Linked DNA regions of Homo sapiens: all the other regions are linked to region 2. The links are contacts of gene promoters, found by promoter capture Hi-C in blood cells and fetal thymus (Javierre and others, 2016). All regions are on one chromosome and are shown on one strand. Each heading gives the region's core, a stretch centred on a gene start or on the middle of the fragment in contact. The rest is flanking DNA. Distances are from core to core; before and after follow the strand shown. Region 1 holds the start of FBXO27 (F-box protein 27). Region 2 holds the start of LGALS16 (galectin 16). Region 3 holds the start of ACP7 (acid phosphatase 7, tartrate resistant (putative)).

The links. The method cuts DNA at HindIII sites, captures the fragments that hold promoters and counts their contacts. A CHiCAGO score of 5 or more calls a contact.
Region 1: the fragment with the promoter of FBXO27 here is called in contact with the fragment with the promoter of LGALS16 in region 2 in 4 of 17 cell types (total CD8 T cells, fetal thymus, naive CD8 T cells and 1 more); the score reaches 5.5 in total CD8 T cells.
Region 3: a contact is called between the fragment with the promoter of ACP7 here and the fragment with the promoter of LGALS16 in region 2, in 3 of 17 cell types (naive B cells, total B cells and fetal thymus). The highest score is 7.4, in naive B cells.

The regions. Positions count from the first base shown.
Region 1 is chr19:39,030,466-39,034,343 of GRCh38, forward strand. FBXO27 (F-box protein 27) reads right to left here and starts at 2,084. Exons shown (of 6, transcript NM_178820.5): 1 at 2,038-2,084; 2 at 1,399-1,788; 3 at 744-855; 4 at 564-659. The coding sequence starts at 1,762. RefSeq lists enhancers at 663-772, 1,179-1,971 and silencers at 881-1,063, 913-1,152, 1,303-1,382, 1,583-1,732, 1,793-1,862. The HindIII fragment of the contact is 11,668 bases long and covers 1-3,878 here.
Region 2 is chr19:39,653,903-39,657,841 of GRCh38, forward strand. It overlaps LGALS16 (galectin 16), which reads left to right and starts at 2,011. Exons shown (of 4, transcript NM_001190441.3): 1 at 2,011-2,074. The coding sequence starts at 2,060. The HindIII fragment of the contact is 3,782 bases long and covers 1,925-3,939 here.
Region 3 is chr19:39,083,106-39,087,201 of GRCh38, forward strand. It overlaps ACP7 (acid phosphatase 7, tartrate resistant (putative)), which reads left to right and starts at 1,263. Exons shown (of 13, transcript NM_001004318.3): 1 at 1,263-1,295; 2 at 1,987-2,285. The coding sequence starts at 2,165. RefSeq lists an enhancer at 1,116-1,616. The HindIII fragment of the contact is 23,028 bases long and covers 69-4,096 here.

The sequences.
Region 1 (3,878 bases), core at 834-3,333, 620 kb before region 2:
AAGACTGAGCTGGGCCAAAGGTCTCTGTACTGGATCTCATCTTCTGTCTTCCAATCCACATCCTTTTGGGCATGAGCAGAAAGTGTGTACTCTGCTAATTACTAGAACTGTGAGTGTGTTTTTCACTTCACCTCCCTGAACTTCAGTTTCTTTTCTTTCTTTTTTTTTTCCAGGACTGAGTCTCACTCTGTCGTCCAGGCTGGAGTGTAGTGGTACAACCTCCACCTCCTGGGTTCAAGTGATTCTCCTGCCTCAGCCTCCCAAGTATGTGGGACTACAGGTGTGCACTACCAGGCCCGGCTAATTTTTTTTTTGTATTTTTAGTAGAGACGAGGTTTTGCCATGCTGGTTGGGCTGGTCTCGAACTCCTGACCTCAAGTGATCTGCCTGCCTCGACCCCCCAAAGTGCTGGGATTATAGGTGTGAGCCACCATGGCTGGCCTGAACTTCAGATTTTTTATCTGTAAGGAGGGGTTAGGAGGCCTAAATTAAGTCACCCATAAAAAGGCCATGTCACATGCAGTCAGTGCTTAGCAAGGGGCTATTTTAATCGTCACACTCACCAGTCAGAGACACAAATCTCAATCCTGCCACTATCCAGCAGTTCTGGCCACAGACCCTCCTCCTCTAGGTCCAAGACCTGCTTCTTGCAACACCAGCTGGGAATGCAGGAGACAGGGTAATGAGAACAGGCAGGCCTTTCTCAACAAGGGGCCGGACCTTTGGATAGCAGGGGCATTCACCTGAATGAAGTCACGAAGCACGTCTGAGAAGGGGCCCCAGGCACGGTTGTCCTGTTTTCCTCCACCACCCAGCCGTCCCCACCGTGTTGCACCATCCACTTTCGGAGGCCTTCTGTGAAATAAAAAAGGCTTGTGCCCAAGTTCCAGTCGCCCGCCTGTTGGTTCCTAGTGAGACCCCGCCCCTAGCCCCTCCCACGTGCTCACAGTGCAGCTCACTCACCTGACCCTTCCCACCGAGGCCCCGCCCCCTTCCCCTCCCACCAGCTCAGGGCAAAGCCCCGCTCCTCTGGCCCTTCTCACTGATTTGCAGCAAAGCCCTGCCCCTCCAACCCCTCTCTCGGGCTCCCAGAACTGCCCCACTCCCACCCCTCCCACAGGCAAACGGTGAAGCCCTGCCCAGTCAGCCCTGCACCCTGCGTGCCAATGCTGCCTCGTCCCTCCGACACCTCCCACCGGCTCCCAATGCTGCCCCGCCCCTCCGGCACCTCACACCGGCTCCCAATGCTGCCCCGCCTCTCCGACTCCTCCCACCGGTCCCACTGCGGCCCTGCCCCTGCGGCCCCTAGTACCGGTCCCAGTGCGGCCCCGCCCCTCCGGCCCCGCTACCGCTCCCACTGTGGCCCAGCATCCTGGACTTCCTCTTCCGAGATCCCACCTTGGCCGCAGGGGTTGCGAATAAGGTTGCGTCCGATGGGTCTGCGCGCGCAGAAGCGGCCCAGGGGGCAAGGCCTGGCGTTACGGGCGGGAGACTGGCAGCTGCGGGCGAGGTGCAGCAGCGCGCGGCCGGTGGCGCCGTGGTCGCGGGCCAGGATCAGCAGCCACAGGGCCTGGCCGTCCACCAGGGCTCGCCAGCCCCGGCACACTTGGCGGCAGCGCCCGAGCAGCGTGCGCGGGGGGACGTGGCTCAGCACCACCAGAAGCAGCTCTGGGGGTAGTTGGCTCAGGTCCAGCGCCTCTTCGGGTTCCGGCTCCGGCGCGGGGACCCGGGCGGCCCGGCCCCTGGAGACCGAGGCGCCCATGGTCCCCCCGCCAGGCCCGGCTGTGGCTGCGGGAGAGGAAGGGTCAAGGCGTCAGGGACCAGCAGCCTCCGCGGCGCGCAGCCTCTGCCTGCCCTGATTCTGCCAGCCGCACCCCCGTCTTCACCATCCCTGGGCCCCGTCCCCAAGTCCCCATCCCCCAGCCCGTCCTTGATAGCCCCGATATCCCGGAGACCCCGCGGTCTGTGTGTATGCCCCGAATTGCATGCAATCAGCCCCCCTCGGCGGCCGCACCGACACCGCACCCCAAGTCCTACCCCGGGGCCTGGCGGCGCTCCTCGCCGGGATGCCCTAGCTGTGCCGCAAGCTCCCCACGCCCCTCTGCGTCCTTTTTACTCGCCGGCCCCTCCCCTCTTACTAGCCAGCTTCACCCACCCCTGCATCCTCTTTCTTACTCGCCAGCCCCTCCCGCCTGCTCCCTCCCGCTCTCCAAACCCAACCTGCTTCCCGCGACGGGGCCAGGTGCAGCCAGGAGCCAAGGCCTGCTGCTCACAGCCGTCCCCTCCAGCCGGCCCCTTGAAGTGTCCCTAATTCGTTAGTAGCAATGAGACGTCTGGCTCTGAGCAACCATTGTTATTTTGGTCAGGCTTCTGAGTGGGAGGCCTCGTATCCGTTAACGTGTTAAAAAATTTCCATCACCTTTAAGGTCGGGCGTGGTTATCTTCATTTCACAGGAGAAAACAGGCTCCGGCTGCTAAAAATTAATGCAACCAATAGTAACACCAGCCAACTTTTATGGACGGTTTTACTGCCAGCCAGGGTGGCAACCCCATGAAGTAGGTGCTGTTATGCCCTTTACTTCACAGGTGAAAAAACTGAGACCAGCAGAGGCCAAGTGGCTTGTCTATGATCACCAGCTAGTAGGGATTTGAATCCAGCCAGCCTAGCTCCGGAATTCCTCATTTTAACCTCTAGATCAGCTCTGTCCAATAAAAATACAATTGTGGCTGGGTGCGGTGACTCATGCCCGTAATCCCAGCACTTTGGGAGGCCAAGGCAGGCGGATCGCTTGAGGTCAGAAGTTCGAGACCAGCCTGGCCAACATGGTGAAACCCCGTCTCTACTAAAAATACAAAAATTAGCTGGGCGTGGTAGCACGCGCCTGTAATCCCAGCTAATTTGGAGGCTTAGGCAGGAGAATTGCTTGAATCCGGGAGGGGGAGGTTGCAGTGAGCAGAGATTGCACCACTGCACTCCAGCCTGTGCAAAAGAGTGAGTGAGACTCCGTCTCAAAAAACAAACAGAAAAAAAAAATTGTGAAAGTTGATCATGTGAATTGGATCCTTCTTGTCATATCCAACTAAAACAAAGTTGAGAGGCCGGGGGGAAAACACTTAGGGCAGATACCATTGCTCCAAGAAAGTGATTCTCTGCAAGCCTGGCTGTTAAAACTGCCTGTTGTAACCTGGAAGCAGTCTAACTGGTACTGAAAAAACCTGCCGTGACTCTAAGACTAGTTTTTCCCTCTGCTGTCACTTACCAGTCAGAACTTGCCAGCTCCCCAGAACGTTGCTAGTGTCAATGAACTTTCTTGCAAAACAATACCTAACATTTCTGTTTCTTATAAAAACCTCTAACCTCTTTGTTCTTTGAAAGTTCTGAAGACCGCCTGGTCTGTGTGGATGCCTCGAATGTCAATTCTTGCTTCCCAAATAAAACATTTTATTATTTTTTTGAGACAGAGTCTCGCTCTGTCGCCCAGGCTGGAGGGCAGTGATGCAATCTCGTCTCACTGCAACCTCCGCCTCATGGGTTCAAGCGATTCTCCTGCCTCAGCCTCCCGAGTAGCTGGGATTACAGGCGCATGCCACCATGCCCAGCTAATTTTTGTATTTTTAGTAGAGACGGGGTTTCACCATGTTGGCCAGGATGGTCTCAAACTCCCGACCTCAGGTGATCTGCCCGCCTCAGCCTCCCAAAGTGCTGGGATCGCAGGCATGAGCCACCGCAACAAAACATTTTAAATCGAGAGATTTGTCTCTATATCTCTATATTTTATTTGGCTTCGACATAACGTGAGCTGTATACATAGTTTAAGACATCAACAAACAAAACCAGACATGGATTCTTCCCCACAAAGAACTTACCTTCTAGAGGG
Region 2 (3,939 bases), core at 761-3,260:
GACCAATGGAACAGAATGGAGCCCTCAGAAATAACACCACACATCTATAACCATCTGATCTTTGATAAACCTGACAAAAACAAGAAATGAGGAAAGGATTCCCTATTTAATAAATGGTGCTGGGAAAACTGGCTAGCCATATGTAGAAAGCTGAAATTGGACCCCTTCCTTACACCTTATACAAAAATTAATTCAAGATGGATTAAAGACTTAAATGTTAGACCTAAAACCATGAAAACCCTAGAAGAAAACCTAGGCAATATCATTTAGGATGTAGGCATAGGCAAGGACTTCATGACTAAAACACCAAAAGCAATGGCAACAAAAGCCAAAATTGACAAATGGATCTAATTAAACTAAAGAGCTTCTGCACAGCAAAAGAAACTACCGTCAGAGTGAATAGGCAACCTACAGTATGGGAGAAAATTTTTGCAATCTACCCATTTGACAAAGGGCTAATATCCAGAATCTACAAAGAACTTAAACAAATTTACAAGAAAAAAACAAACAACCCCATCAAAAAGTGGGCAAAGGATATGAACAGACACTTCTCAAAAGAAGACATTTATGCAGCCAACAAACACAGGAAAAAATGCTTATCATCACTGGTCATTAGAGAAATGCAAATCAAAACTACATTGAGATACCATCTCACACCAGTTAGAATGGCGATCATTAAAAAGTCAGGAAACAACAGATGCTGGGGAGGATATGGAGAAATAGGAACGCTTTTACACTGTTGGTGGGAGTGTAAACGAGCTCAACCATTATGGAAGACAGTGTGGCCATTCCTCCAGGATCTAGAACTAGAAATATCATTTGACCCAGCATCCCATTACTGGGTATATACCCAAAGGATTATAAATCATGCTACTATAAAGACACATGCACACGTATGTTTATTGCAGCACTGTTCACAATAGCAAAGACTTGGAACCAAACCAAATCCTTCAATGATAGACTGAATTAAGAAAATGTGGCACATATACACCATGGAATTCTATGCAGCCATAAAAAAGGATGAGTTCATGTCCTTTGCAGGGAGATGGATGAAGCTGGAAACCATCATTCTGAACAAACTATCACTAGCACAGAAAACCAAATACCGCATGTTCTCACTCATAGGTGGGAATTGTACAATGAGAGCACTTGGACACATGGCAGGGAACATCACACATGGGGGACTATCATGGGGTGGGGGGCAGGGGGATGGATAGCATCAGGATAAATAATGTAAATGACGAGTTAATGGGTGCAGCAAACAAACATGGCACATGTATACCTGTGTAACAAACCTGCACATTGTGCACATGTACCCTGGAACTTAAAGTATAATAATAATTTTTTTTAAATCTCACCTTTCTCCCAGAATCTGCAGAAGAAACAGTCTCCCTCAAACTTTGATTTACATGGACACCAACAGAGGGTGTAGCTAGAGCCCAAGTGTGTGACAGTCAGATGAAAGTGGCCCTTACCTAGCAAAGCCAAGTGGCTTAGTGTGGGGCAGGTTCATGCAAGAAATTTCTCTACTTCTCTCTGCAGATCCTCCTCAGGATCAAGGTCAGTGCTCTCCCAGAACATTTAAAGGCAGAGAGAAGAATTACCTTTTAGGGCTAACTTGTTTCCCCCAAAATCTCCAACTTTTTTTTTCTTGTTTAGCCATTGTACAAAATTGGGAAAATGTACACCTTCTGGGTAGATTCTGCATAGTGGAGAAAAGGCTTGAGAGGCACAAAGGCTGGGCTTTACAATCACTACCCCTCACTCCATCATCCTTATCTATGCATTTCCCTGGTAACCCAATCCACAGTCTGGTACCTTCCCCAATGTCATTTCTGCTGCATTACAGACACAGACTTGCAAATAGTTATGGTTGTGACTGAGTTTCTTCGTGACACCTGACCCTTTCTCATGCTGCAAGGAAAGCTTGCTGGGAGGAGCATGGAATCTGGAATGATGCCAGAGGGCAAAGCTGAAAGGGGTCATTTAAGTGCTGCAACTCAGAGATTCACTCAGAAGACTGGACACAATTCCGAAGGTCGCCCAGAAGGAGAGGACAATGTCATTTCTAACTGTGAGTTGAAAAGGCACAGCCTTCAATAATCTCAAGTCACACAAAACCAAGAAAGATGTGGGGTATTTTATGAGATGAAAATATGAGCATTCCTACTGTGAATGCTTTACTGAGAGTTGTGGGTGTGTGGAAGAGAAACACTGAGGCTGGGTATCTGAGATGCTTGTAGCATGTGGGTTGTGGATCCTGGACAAATGTAACCCTCTGTGAGCATGAGGTGGTATCTGATGAGAGTGAACTCTGATGAGATGATGTGACTTTAGGTGGGAGGTGGATGGCACACCAGGTCAAGCAGGTGTTTGTGTGAGTGTAAGGGGGGTGATTGTACTTTGTCTTCCTCTTTGTGATGTGAGTGTGTGTTAGCACAGCCAGACCAGTGCATGGTCATCTTTATGTGCGCAGTGAGCAGGTGTGTGTAACTCAGTGAGTGGCATGGCTCTGTGTGACTGTGGGTGTGTGTGCTGGGATGTGACTGAGTATTGAAGGGAAAACACGCATGTGGCCTTCTGTGCATGTGAAGGTTCCTCCCCACACAACAGCACTTCTGATGAAGGAACTGTGTGTCTTTTCATGTGTGGCAATGTGGATCCCAGGTGGCTTAACTGGTAGGGATCTTGGAGATTGTGAGTTACCAAGGACTTGTTTCAGATCACTTATGAGAGCAGAATGTATGATCAGTAGATGTCTCTTCCCAGTAAGAGTGGGGAAGAGGAATGGAGACTATGGGGGTGATGGATCCTCAGGTGGGGTCTGCACAGAGTGACCACTGTCTCTTGCCTCCCAGGCTCAGCTTCCCTGTCCCCAGCCTATCCTGTCCTTTTCATTGTGGGACAGGAGGTTTGCTAGAGAAGGATATTAGAGGCCATGGTTTCAGAGACTGAATCACGTAAAATATCCACTGTAAGCTATGTCTCAACTGAGTCTAAACTTGTTCCTCCACCCATGAAGGAACAAGTCTAGTCTCAGTTCAGACAGAGCTTACAGTGGATATTAATCAACAAAGCAGCTGGGTTCACTGGCTCACGGCTATAATCCCACCAATCTGAGAGACAAAGATGAGAGGATAACTTGAGGCCAGAAGTTTGAGGCCAGTCTGGGTATCATAGTGAGACCCTTTCTTTAAAAAACTTTAAATATCAGACTGCCAGAGTGGCAGGCACCTTTTGCCCCAGCTACACAAGAGGGGGCAGATGTGTGAGGATCACTGCAGCCCAGGAGTTCAACGTTTCAATGAGCTATGATCGCACCACTGCATGTCAGCCTGGGCAACAGAGCAAGACCCTATCTCAAAAATACAGAAAAATCATCAACCACTTGTAGTCATTGTAGAAATCAATCATTCCCTCCAGTTATGTCCCTGACCCACAGGCTTCACTTGTGCAAGTACTGGGGCTGTGCTGTCAGTAATGTGTGCCACTTCTTGGAAGGACGTCCATTGCCCTTGATGATTGTGAGAGTTGAAAATAAGGCAGATCAGTGTTTCAGGAGGACTCCCCTGTTCTGTTAGGTCACCCCTAACAGGCCCTACACATGCCAGGGATTAGGGTAAAAGTTTTACATGTATTAACTGCTCTATTATGGAGAACTTCCTACACAGTAGGAATTCATGATAATCCTCCTTGTTTTAGGGAAACTGAGGAAGTCAAGTAACCGATCTAAGATTGCACTGCTAGTAAGAGGCAGAATGAGGACTGGAATCCAGGCTTCTTGGCTCCTGAACCCTTGCTCTTACCTATGGGTCCACCATACCTTCAGGAATGTGGGGCCCTGACTGTGGTAGAGTGAATGGGGAGAGTCCACAGAGCCTGCCCTGTGATCTCTAACCTCCTGCACCATGGGAATATGTTACAGGAAGGGAGACTGCA
Region 3 (4,096 bases), core at 13-2,512, 570 kb before region 2:
TATGCATGTAACGACATGATCCTGAGAAGGGCTTGACCAGCTTGCCATAGGCATCTTTAGCACAAAAAAGCTTAGGAACCTCCCATTCTGGACGAACTAAGAATACGGGGAGGTTATAATTGGGGGCCACAGGAGTGGCAGGTACTCAAGTTTGGTTATGAGAGCTACTTTCATTATATTTTAGGCTGTAATGGAGACTCTGGAAGTGGGAAGAAAAAAAAAAAAACTCAAACAGTGCAAAGGGCTCGTTTTGATTTTCCCACACTCCTAGTGCCAATTTCTGAAATTGGTGTCCACAATCAGTAGAAGCCTATGTGCTCTGAATTTACAAAGCCAAGTGGTGGCGGGTCATTGTATCTGCAGTCAGGAAGGGGAAACGACTGGAAATCCGGGCCCCCCCAGTTCTTCCCTGCTTCTCTTTTTGTGGCAGCCGCTCCTCACGTTCAAACAGATTGCAAAGGTTTACAGGGGAGAACCCTAACTTGTTCCCTAGACGTCAGTTTCTGGAGTTCCTGCATTAATACGATTAAAAAGAACAGCTGATTCTTATCCAGCCCTTACTCTGGGCCGGGCCCTGTTATCGGCATGAAATTTCATGCAGCAACTCGTTTACTCCTCACAACAGCCCACGGGGTATATACGAGCATCACCTCCTTTTTACAGGTGAAAAAACCCAAGGTCCAGCGAGGTTGAATAACTCACCTAGGTCGCACAGCTCAGAAAGCCCACTGCAATTCCGGGATTCTGGTTTTGTTTTGAGGTTGCCCCGGGCTTCTGAGGAGGGGTCAGTGGGCTCAGCATGGAAAGGAAGGAAGCCGGAAGGCTGGAGGAAGATGCAGCGAGGCTGGAAAGGTTGGGGATCCCCCGGTCCTGCACACCTGGGTACCTGGGGATCGGGCAGGGCCAGGATAGGGGCCGGTGTCCGTGCCCTGGGGCTCCCCAGCTGATGAGTGGGCGCCTGAGGGACGAGCGCAGGGTTACCTGCCTGGGCTCTCACCTGGTGGCCGGCTCAGAGGTGGCGCGCCGGAGACGTATCATAACCTTCCTGGGTCCCCCTTCCCGCGCCACGCCCTGGTGGGGTGGGCGGGTGGGTGTGGGGCGCCCAGGCAGGACCGGCCGGACCTGTGGGACCCGGGGCCCTGGCTGTCTAGGGAGGCTGTCACCCCGAGGCGACCGGCTCTTCCGGGGCTGGGACGGCTGTAGGCGGCAAGAGGCCTCGGCACCCGCGAACTCATAAATACCGGGGCGGCGCTGGTGGCGGGAGAGGCGCGTGCGGGCAGCCGGCGCCCCCGAGGGTGAGCCGGGGTCCGGGAGGGCGTCCCCTTTCCCGGATGGTCCCGACCCGGCTCCATCCTGGCAGCTGGAGACGGAGCTGGAGCAGGCGGGAAAGCGCTGGAGAGAAGGGGGGTGGGTACAGATGGGGGAAGGGCAGGGACGCTGGGGATGGGGAGAGAGGATGCGGCCGCTCTGGCCATGATGGGCTCTAAAGGATCTGGGGGTGGTGTGGGAGGATTGGGGTCACTAGGAGCAAAATAGAAGGCTAAGGATGGAGTAGGGAGGCGAGGTCCCGGGGGCAGGCGGGAATGCTTGGAATCTCGGGAGTAGGTAGGAGAACTGGGGTTTCTAACAGCAGGATGGAAAGCTGGGGATGGGGCTGCGGAATGCAACCTCCTACACAGCCTCCACCCCGCTCCCAGACCCCCAGCACTGAGAGTGAGCTCTGGTTAGGAGCAAGGCTCTGGAATCAGGCCCTCCTGGGTTCAAATCCTGGCTCCATCCCATCCTAGCTGTGCAGCTGAATCACTCAGCTGCTCGGTTTCCTCATCTGTGATATGGGGATGACAATGCTCACAGCCACCACTTCATAGCAATGTCGTGAGGCTTCCGTGAATTAATCTATGTCAAGCGGTTGGCACACTGTGAGTGAGGCTCAGAGAGCTCTGCTGCTGTTCCTTAGCGATTCTTATTTTTGGTTTCTCTCTCCAGCACCTGGATAACCACCCATCTTGAAGGAGACCTCCCTGCCCTGCCTCTGTTGTCCCCCAGAGCACTGCCTGATCATCCTCTGTTCCCCATCCTCCCAGCCCTTCCTGCTGTACCTGTGGGGAGCTGATCTCCTCAGTCCCCCTGCTTTTCCCCGGTCTGCCATCACCACCCCACCACCATGCACCCCCTTCCTGGCTACTGGTCCTGTTACTGTCTACTCCTGCTATTCTCCTTGGGAGTCCAGGGGTCCCTGGGGGCTCCCAGCGCTGCCCCAGAGCAAGTCCATCTGTCTTACCCAGGTAAGTGTCCCTGACTCATTTCTATGCCTCTACCAGAGAGGCCCAGCGGTGCTTCGTTGTTTGAGGGCTCAGGAATCCCACACTGTGAGCCCCTAGGCGGGTGGCTCATTCCTCCTGAGCCTCCATCATCCACCTCTGTGGAATAGGAAGTACAGGCTGTGGAACACCTGGAAGTGTGGGGAATGATCATGGTGCTCAGCCCACAGAGAGTGCTCCCCTGCTCTCAAAAGGGGACCGCTGCTGTCCTTGTTCATTGCATCTCTGTTGTGTTTCCGGGACCTGGCACGTTTGTTCGTTCATGCACGGTAGGCCTCAGAGCCAGTTGTGGAAGGAACCAGTGGATGAATGATAACAGAGCTGGGTTACCCAGCCCCTTCTCCATCCCTCTTCTCCTCTTCCCCACGAGGCTGACTGCCTCCCGATCTTTGATTAGGATCCTTCCACTGTGGGAGTAAGAGCTTGGACTCTGGACCATTGGCACCCAGACCACGTGGGTTAGAATCCCAGCTTTGCTATGTACCTGCTGCCTAATCTTGGGCAAGTGGCTTAACCTCTCTGTCCTCAGTCTCCTCATCTGGATAATGGGGTAATATTAGTACAACCTCATGGTGAGGTGTAAATGAGTTGCTACCTGTAAAGGGGCAGAACTGAGGCTGAGTGTGGGGGCTCACACCTGTAGTCTTAGCAGTTTGGGAGGCTGAGGCGGAAGGATCACTTGAGCTCATGAGTTTGGGACCAGCCTAGGAAACATAGTGAGACCTCTGCCTCTTAGGGAAAAAGAAAAAATCTTAGACAGGTGTGGTGGCATGCACCTATAGTCCCAGCTACTTGGGAGACTGAGGTGGGAGGATCGCTTGAGCCCAGGAGTTCAAGGCTGCAGTGAGCCATGATTGGCCACTACACTCCAGCCTGGGCAACAGAGAGAGACCCTGTCTTTAAAAAAAAAAATGTGGAGGAGGCCAGGCACAGTGGTGCATGCCTGTAATCTCAGCAATTTGGGACACTGAGGTGGGTGGATCACTTGACCTCAGGGGTTCAAGACCAGCCTGGGTAACATGGGTGAAACCCGGTCTCTACAAAAAAATTAAAAAATTAGCTGGGCATGGTGGCTCACGCCTGGTCTCAGCTGCTTGGGGAGCTGAGGCAAGAGGATCGCTTGAGCCCAGGAGGCAAAGGTTGCAATGAGCCAAGATCATGCCATTACACTCCAACCTGGCTGACAGAATGAGGCCCTGTCTCAAAAAAAAAAAAGGGGGGGGGGAGGGGGATAGAACGGAGCTTGGCATGTAGCAGCAATTTCCATACACTTTAAATCTCAGGACTGTTTGTTTTAAACTGTTAATCTCAGGACCATTTTACATCACTAAATTTTATGGAGAACTAAAATTTATGGAGAAGTTCAAAGAGCTTTAGTTTATGTGCATTACAGCTAGCAATATTTACTAAATAAGGTATTAAAACTGAGGCATTTAAAATTTTTTATTGTCATTTAAAATTAACAATAACAAACACCTTCAGTATTAATGTATATGATATTTTTAAGGAACAAACTGTATTTTGCAAAAGAAGAAATTGAGTGAGGAAAGTGGCATTGACTTGCATCTTTTAAAAATCTTTTATTTATTTATTTATTTTTGAGACAGGGTCTCGCTCTGTCAACCAGGCTGGAGTGCAGTGGCACAGTCTTGGCTCACTGCAGCCTCTGCCCCGCAGGGTTCAAGTGATTCTCCCACCTCAGCCTCCCGAGTAGCTGGGATTACAGGCACCCACCACCCCATACTTGGCTAATTTTTGTATTTTTTATACAGATG